Regions from separate parts of the Homo sapiens genome. Here region 2 is linked to region 1. The links are contacts of gene promoters, found by promoter capture Hi-C in human tissues and cell types (Jung and others, 2019). All regions are on one chromosome and are shown on one strand. Each heading gives the region's core, a stretch centred on a gene start or on the middle of the fragment in contact. The rest is flanking DNA. Distances are from core to core; before and after follow the strand shown.

Region 1 (2,871 bases), core at 64-2,563:
AGGCCAAGGCAGGCAGATCGCTTGAGGTCAGGAATTCCAAACCAGCCTGGCCAACATGGAGAAACCCTCATCTCTCCTAAAAATACAAAAAATTAGCTGGGCATAGTGGCACTTGGTTGTAATCCCAGCTACTTGGAGCTGAGGTAGGAGAATCACTTGAAACTGGGAGGTGGAGGTTGCAGTGAGCCGAGATCACACAAGTGCACTCCAGCCTGGTGACAGAGTAAGACTCTGTCTCAAAAATAAATAAATAAATAAATAAATAAATAAATAAATAAATAAATAAAATGGGCTGGGCAGCGGTGGCTCACACCTGTAATCCCAGCACTTTGGGAGGCCAAGGCAGGAAGATCACCTCATGTCAGGAATTCGAGGCCAGCCTGGCCAACATGGTGAAACCCTGTCTCCACTAAAAATACAAAAATTACCCGGGCGTGGTGGCAGGTGCCTGTAATCCCAGCTACTCGGGAAGCTGAGGCAGGAGAATCGCTTGAACCTGGGAGGCGGAGGTTGCAGTGAGCCAAGATTGCACCATTGCACTCCAGCCTGGGGGACAAGAAAGGAGACTTCGTCTCAAAAATTAAAATAATAATAATAATAATAATAATAATAATAATAATAATAATGGAATCAGGGGTCTCACCGTGATGCCCAAGCTGTTCTTGAACTCCTGAGCTCAAACAATTCTTCTGCCTTGGCCTTCCAAAATACTAGGATTACAGATGTGAGACACCTCACCCGACCAAGTAGCATTTTCATAAAATATTTATGTATTTATTTATTTTTAACATGGAGTCTCACTGTCTGTCCCCGAATGGAGTGCAGTGGCAGTATCTTGGCTCACTGCAACCTCTGCCTCTTAGGTTCAAGCGATTCTCCTGCCTCAGCCTCCAAGTAGCTGGGATCACAAGCACGTACTTCTACACAAGCTAAGTTTTGTATTTTTAGTAGAGATGGAGTTTTACCATGTTGGTCAGGCTGGTCTTGAACTTCTGATCTTAAATGATCTGCCCGCCTTGACCTCCCAAAGTGCTAGGATTACAGGCATGAGCCACCACGCCCAGCCCTACATTTTTTTTTTCCTGTCTCTCCACTGTATTTTGGAAAGCATTTTCTTATCAGTATATCTCACTATTTGGGACACTCTGCAACATGTAAATTGAACATTTTTCATATGGCTATTTGAAAAGTTTTTTTTCTTCATGGCTCCAAAAATAGATGTCAGGAAATGTGTTCTTTTTGTGGAATTCCTTTTGTGAATTGCCACTGGGTGCTCATATTTGTGGCCCACTGACATCCAAAAGATGGATGACATCTACCTTATCTGGTCGGTCATCTCTGTAACCTCCCTACCAAGGACTAATTGGTCTTTAAAACTCCTCAATGCACCGGGCGCGGTGGCTCACGCCTGTAATCCCAGCACTTTGGGAGGCCGAGGCGGGCAGATCACGAGGTCAGGAAATCGAGACCATCTTGGCTAACAAGGTAAAACCCCGTTTCTACTAAAAATACAAAAAATTAGCTGGGCGTGGTGGCGGGCGCCTGTAGTCCTAGCTACTCTGGAGGCTGAGGCGGGAGAATGGCGTGAACCCGGGAGGCGGAGCTTGCAGTGAGCCGAGATCGCGCCACTGCACTCCAGCCTGGGCGACAGAGTGAGACTCCGTCTCAAAAAAAAAAAAAAAAAAAAGAAGTGGCAGTTGTCTGGATATATTTTAAAGAAAGAAAAGCAAGACTTTCTGACAGATTGAGTTGAGCTATGAGAAAGGGAAGAAGTGAAAGACAGCACCAAGCTTTTTGACTCAAACCACTGGGCAGATGGAGTTGGCTTTACTAAGATAGAGAGGCCTGAGTGGGTCAGCGTTCAGTGAAGGGAGCCATAAACTGAGTTTGGGAATTTTAAGTTCAATTCACATAACTTATTAGACATCCAAGCAGAGATATTGAATTGGGAGTTTGACATAGAAGACTGGAAATAAAAATTTGAAAATAATCTCCCTTTTGGGCAGTATTAAAAACCATGAGATTAGATGACCTGGATTAGAGCTACATGTAAAGGAGATAAGAGGTGAAGGGATTTAACCTTGAGTGTGATTGAAAAAGCACAGGGACAGAAATCAGTAGGGGAAAGAGGAGCAACAAAGAAAGCTTTGAAAGAGCAGCCATTGACTTGAGGAAGCCCCAGGAAAGGATGGTGTTCAGGAAGTGGGAGAATAAACTCTTTCAATGTGGAGAGAGATCCCGATACTTCAGAAGCCCCTGATCATTCAAGTAAGTAAGATGGGGACAGGCCAGGCACAGTGGCTCACACCTCAAATCCCAGCACTTTGGGAGGCCAAGCGGGGCAGATCGCTTGAGCTCAGGAGTTGAAGACCATCCTGGCCAAGATGATGAAACCCCCCATCTCCACCAAAAATACAACAATTAGCCGGGCTTGGTGAGGCACGCCTGTAGTCCCAGCTACTCAGGAGGCTGAGGCAAGAGAATCCTTCGAGCCCAGAAGGCAGAGGTTGTGGTGAGCTGAGATCCAGCCACTGCACTCCAGTCTGGGCTTCAGAGTGAGACTCCGTCTCAACAAAACAAAACAGCAAACAAACAAAACAAAACAAACCCACTATCTCACCACCACGATACCCTTAAAAGAAAATGGGGATGGGAAATTGGCCATTTGATTTCTTTTCTTTTGTTTTTGTTTCTTGAGTCACAGTCTTGTTCTGTTGCCCAGGCTGGAGTGGCACAATCTCAACTAACTGCGACCTCCCCCTCCCGGGGTTCAAAAGACATGTCCGATTAGTTTTTTGTATTTTTAATAGAGACGGGGTTTCACCATGTTGGCCAGGCTGGTCCTGAACTCCTGACCTCAAGTGGTCCACC
Region 2 (2,985 bases), core at 303-2,802, 45 kb before region 1:
CCAGCTACAAATCAGGGTTCCCTCGACCCCTTGCTTGAGTTTGATTAATTTGCTCTAGTGGCTCATAGAACTCAGGGAAACACCTTACTTATTGTGAAGGATATTACAAAGGATACAGATGAATAACCAGATGGAAGAGATGCATAGGGCGAGGTATAGGAGAAAAGACAAGCAGGGTGAACCACCCTTAAGGAGTGTGAAACTGTCCAGGAGCCCTCAGAACTCCTTTTGTGTTTTTAGGGAAGCTTCATTAGGTAGGCATGATTGATTACATCACTGGCCATTGGTTTATCAACTCAACCTTCAGCCCCTGTCCCTTCCCCTGGAGGTCCCGGAATGGGAGTGAAACTTTCAACCCTCCAATCACTTGGTGGTTTCTCCTGGCAACCTGCCCACATCCTGAGGGTATCTTGGAGCCCCCAGCAAAGCAGTCACCATTAGCATACAAAAGTTATCACTCCAGAGATTTTGAAGATTTTAGGAGCTATATGACAGGAAATGGTGACTAAGAACAAATATGTTTTATAATATCACAGGGAGAATTGGAAAGGATATCTGCATGATATGTAATAACCCAAGAAGATGCTATCCAGTGATTTCTTTGTGGTTTTTGTTTTGTTTTTTGAGATGGGGTCTCACTTTGTTGCCCAGGCTGGAGTGCAGGACCACACTGCCAAGTTTGGTCATCAGAAGTTACCCCACTGAAGAACTAAATTTAACATGGTCTACCAGCAAGGACAAATGTGGGGCAGATTGAGCATTGGTTATATTTCTTTTTTTTTTTTTTTTTTTTTTTTTTTGAGATGGAGTTTCACTCTTGTTGCCCAGGCCGGAGGGCAGTGGCGCAATATCAGCTCACTGCAACCTCTGCCTCCCATATTCAAGCAATTCTCCTGCCTCAGCTTCCTGAGTAGCTGGGATTACAGGCATGTGCCACCACACCCAGATAATTTTGTATTTTTTAGTACAGATAGGGTCTAACCATGTTGGTGGTATCGAACTCCTGACCTCAGATGATCTACCCACTTCAGCCTCCCAAAGTGCTGGGATTACAGGCATGAGCCACTGTGCCCGGCAGAGCATTTGTTATAACTTACAAATCGTTCCTAGTAGCAAAGCTAACTTTTATTATTTTTCTGTATGAGCTTGAAAATCACTGACTAGTTAAAAAAGGCAACTTATTTTTATTGCAATCATGTTAAATTTGTAAATTAATGAAAACATTAATTCTACATGTCACATGTCCTTTCGTATTCTTTTGAGATGCAGTCTCGCTCTGTCACCAATGCTGAAGTGCAGTGGTGCCATCTCTGCTCACTGCAACCTCCACCTCCCAGGTTCAAGCGATCCTCCTGCCTCAGACTCCCAAGTAGCTGGGACTACAGGCGTGTGCCACCACGCCCAGCTAATTTTTGTATTTTTAGTAGAGACAGGGTTTCACCATGTTAGCCAGACTGGTCTCGAACTCCTGACCTCAGGCAATCTGCCTGCCTTGGCCTCCCAAAGTACTGGGATTATAGGCATGAGACACCGCGCCTGGCTAGTATTTAGGTATATTTTTAAACCTTTCTATAATAATATCTTCCTTTCATGTATTTCCTGCTGAGAGCATCAGTTCAAGTTGCCCTGAATCTTTATGCTCCCAGTTTACATTTATTGAGTGCTAGGCATTATTCTAAGGATTTTACGTGCATTAGCTTATTTAAACCTCAAAACTTCTGAGATAGGTCACTTTCGGTGTCTTCATTTTACAGAAAAAAAAAAGCACAAAAGTAGTGAACTTGCTCAAAGTTACATAAGAAGTGGCTTATCCGAGATGGAAGTCAGCTAAGCCAAGTCGGTACTTTCTTCTTTTTTTTTTTTTGAGATGGAGTTTTGCTCTTGTAGCCCAGGCTGTAATGCAATGGTGCAATCTCGGCTCACTGCAACCTCCGCCTCTTGGGTTCAAGCAATTCTCCTGACCTCTCCCCGTGTCGGCTTCCCAAAGTGCTGGGATTACAGGCGTAAGCCACTGCGCCTGGCCCAAGTCGTACTTTCTACAGATATCTTCCTCTTCAGATTATATTATGGTGTGTTAAAATATTGCCATTACATTTTTCAACTGGTTGTAATATATGAAAGTTGTTTTTTTTCTATATTTACTTATTTGAGCCAGGGTCTCTCTCAGTTGCCCAGGCTGGGAGTGTAGTGAGGCTTGGCTCACTGCAAACTCCACCTCCCGGGCTGAAGCAATCCTCCCACCTCAGCCTTCTGAGTAGCTAGAACTACAGGCATGAGCCACAATGCCCGGCTAATTTTTTGTATTGTTTGAGGAGACAGAGTTTCACCGTGTTGCCCAGGCTAACGCTGTTAATTTCTCTATTTGCTGTTCACTCAACATTTTTTGTTTTACTTTAAACTTTTTTTAAAAAAATTTCAAACTACATAAAGTTGCAAGCTTAAGCTCATAAACCTGTGTGTACATTTTACCTAGATACAACAATTGTTAGCATTAGCCACATTTCATTTAACATTCTATATTTTCTCTTTTTAAACAGATATTTGAGAGTAAATTTCAGATAACACTTCATCCCAAAATAGTTTGTGTTTTCTTAGAACAAGAATATTGACTTATATAACCACAGTAGAAGGATAAAATTCAAGAAATTTATGGCCAGATGTGGTGACTCATGCCTATAATCTCAGCACTTTTGGTGGCTGAGCCCAGAGATTTGCTTGAGGCCAAGAGTTCGAGACTAGCCTGGCAACATAGTGAGATCCTAGTCTCTACAAACAAAAAATAAATTAGTCAGGTGTAGTGTTGGGGGCCGGGGGGAAGATGTGGAAGGGATAGGAAGCGGGAAAGGGGTAGGAAGGGATAGGAAGGGAGGAAATGGGCTAGAGGACCCCAGGGGTTCAAAAGGCAACTTATTTATTTATTTATTTATTTATTTTGAGGCAGAGTTTCGCTCTTGTAGCCCAGGCTGTAGTGCAATGGTGCAATCT

Evidence for each region. The method cuts DNA at HindIII sites, captures the fragments that hold promoters and counts their contacts. A contact is called where the count stands out against the background at its distance.
Region 2: a fragment that was not itself captured here is called in contact with the fragment with the promoter of NANOGNB in region 1 in 2 of the 25 tissues and cell types used here (psoas muscle and stomach).

Annotation. Positions count from the first base shown.
Region 1 is chr12:7,763,903-7,766,773 of GRCh38, forward strand. NANOGNB (NANOG neighbor homeobox) reads left to right here and starts at 1,314. Exons shown (of 4, transcript NM_001145465.1): 1 at 1,314-1,485. The coding sequence starts at 1,384. RefSeq lists an enhancer at 2,425-2,871. The HindIII fragment of the contact is 16,312 bases long and covers 1-1,967 here.
Region 2 is chr12:7,718,317-7,721,301 of GRCh38, forward strand. No RefSeq gene overlaps it. Among named protein-coding and RNA genes, the nearest start is that of DPPA3, 8.4 kb to the left of the region's middle. The HindIII fragment of the contact is 6,179 bases long and covers 1-2,985 here.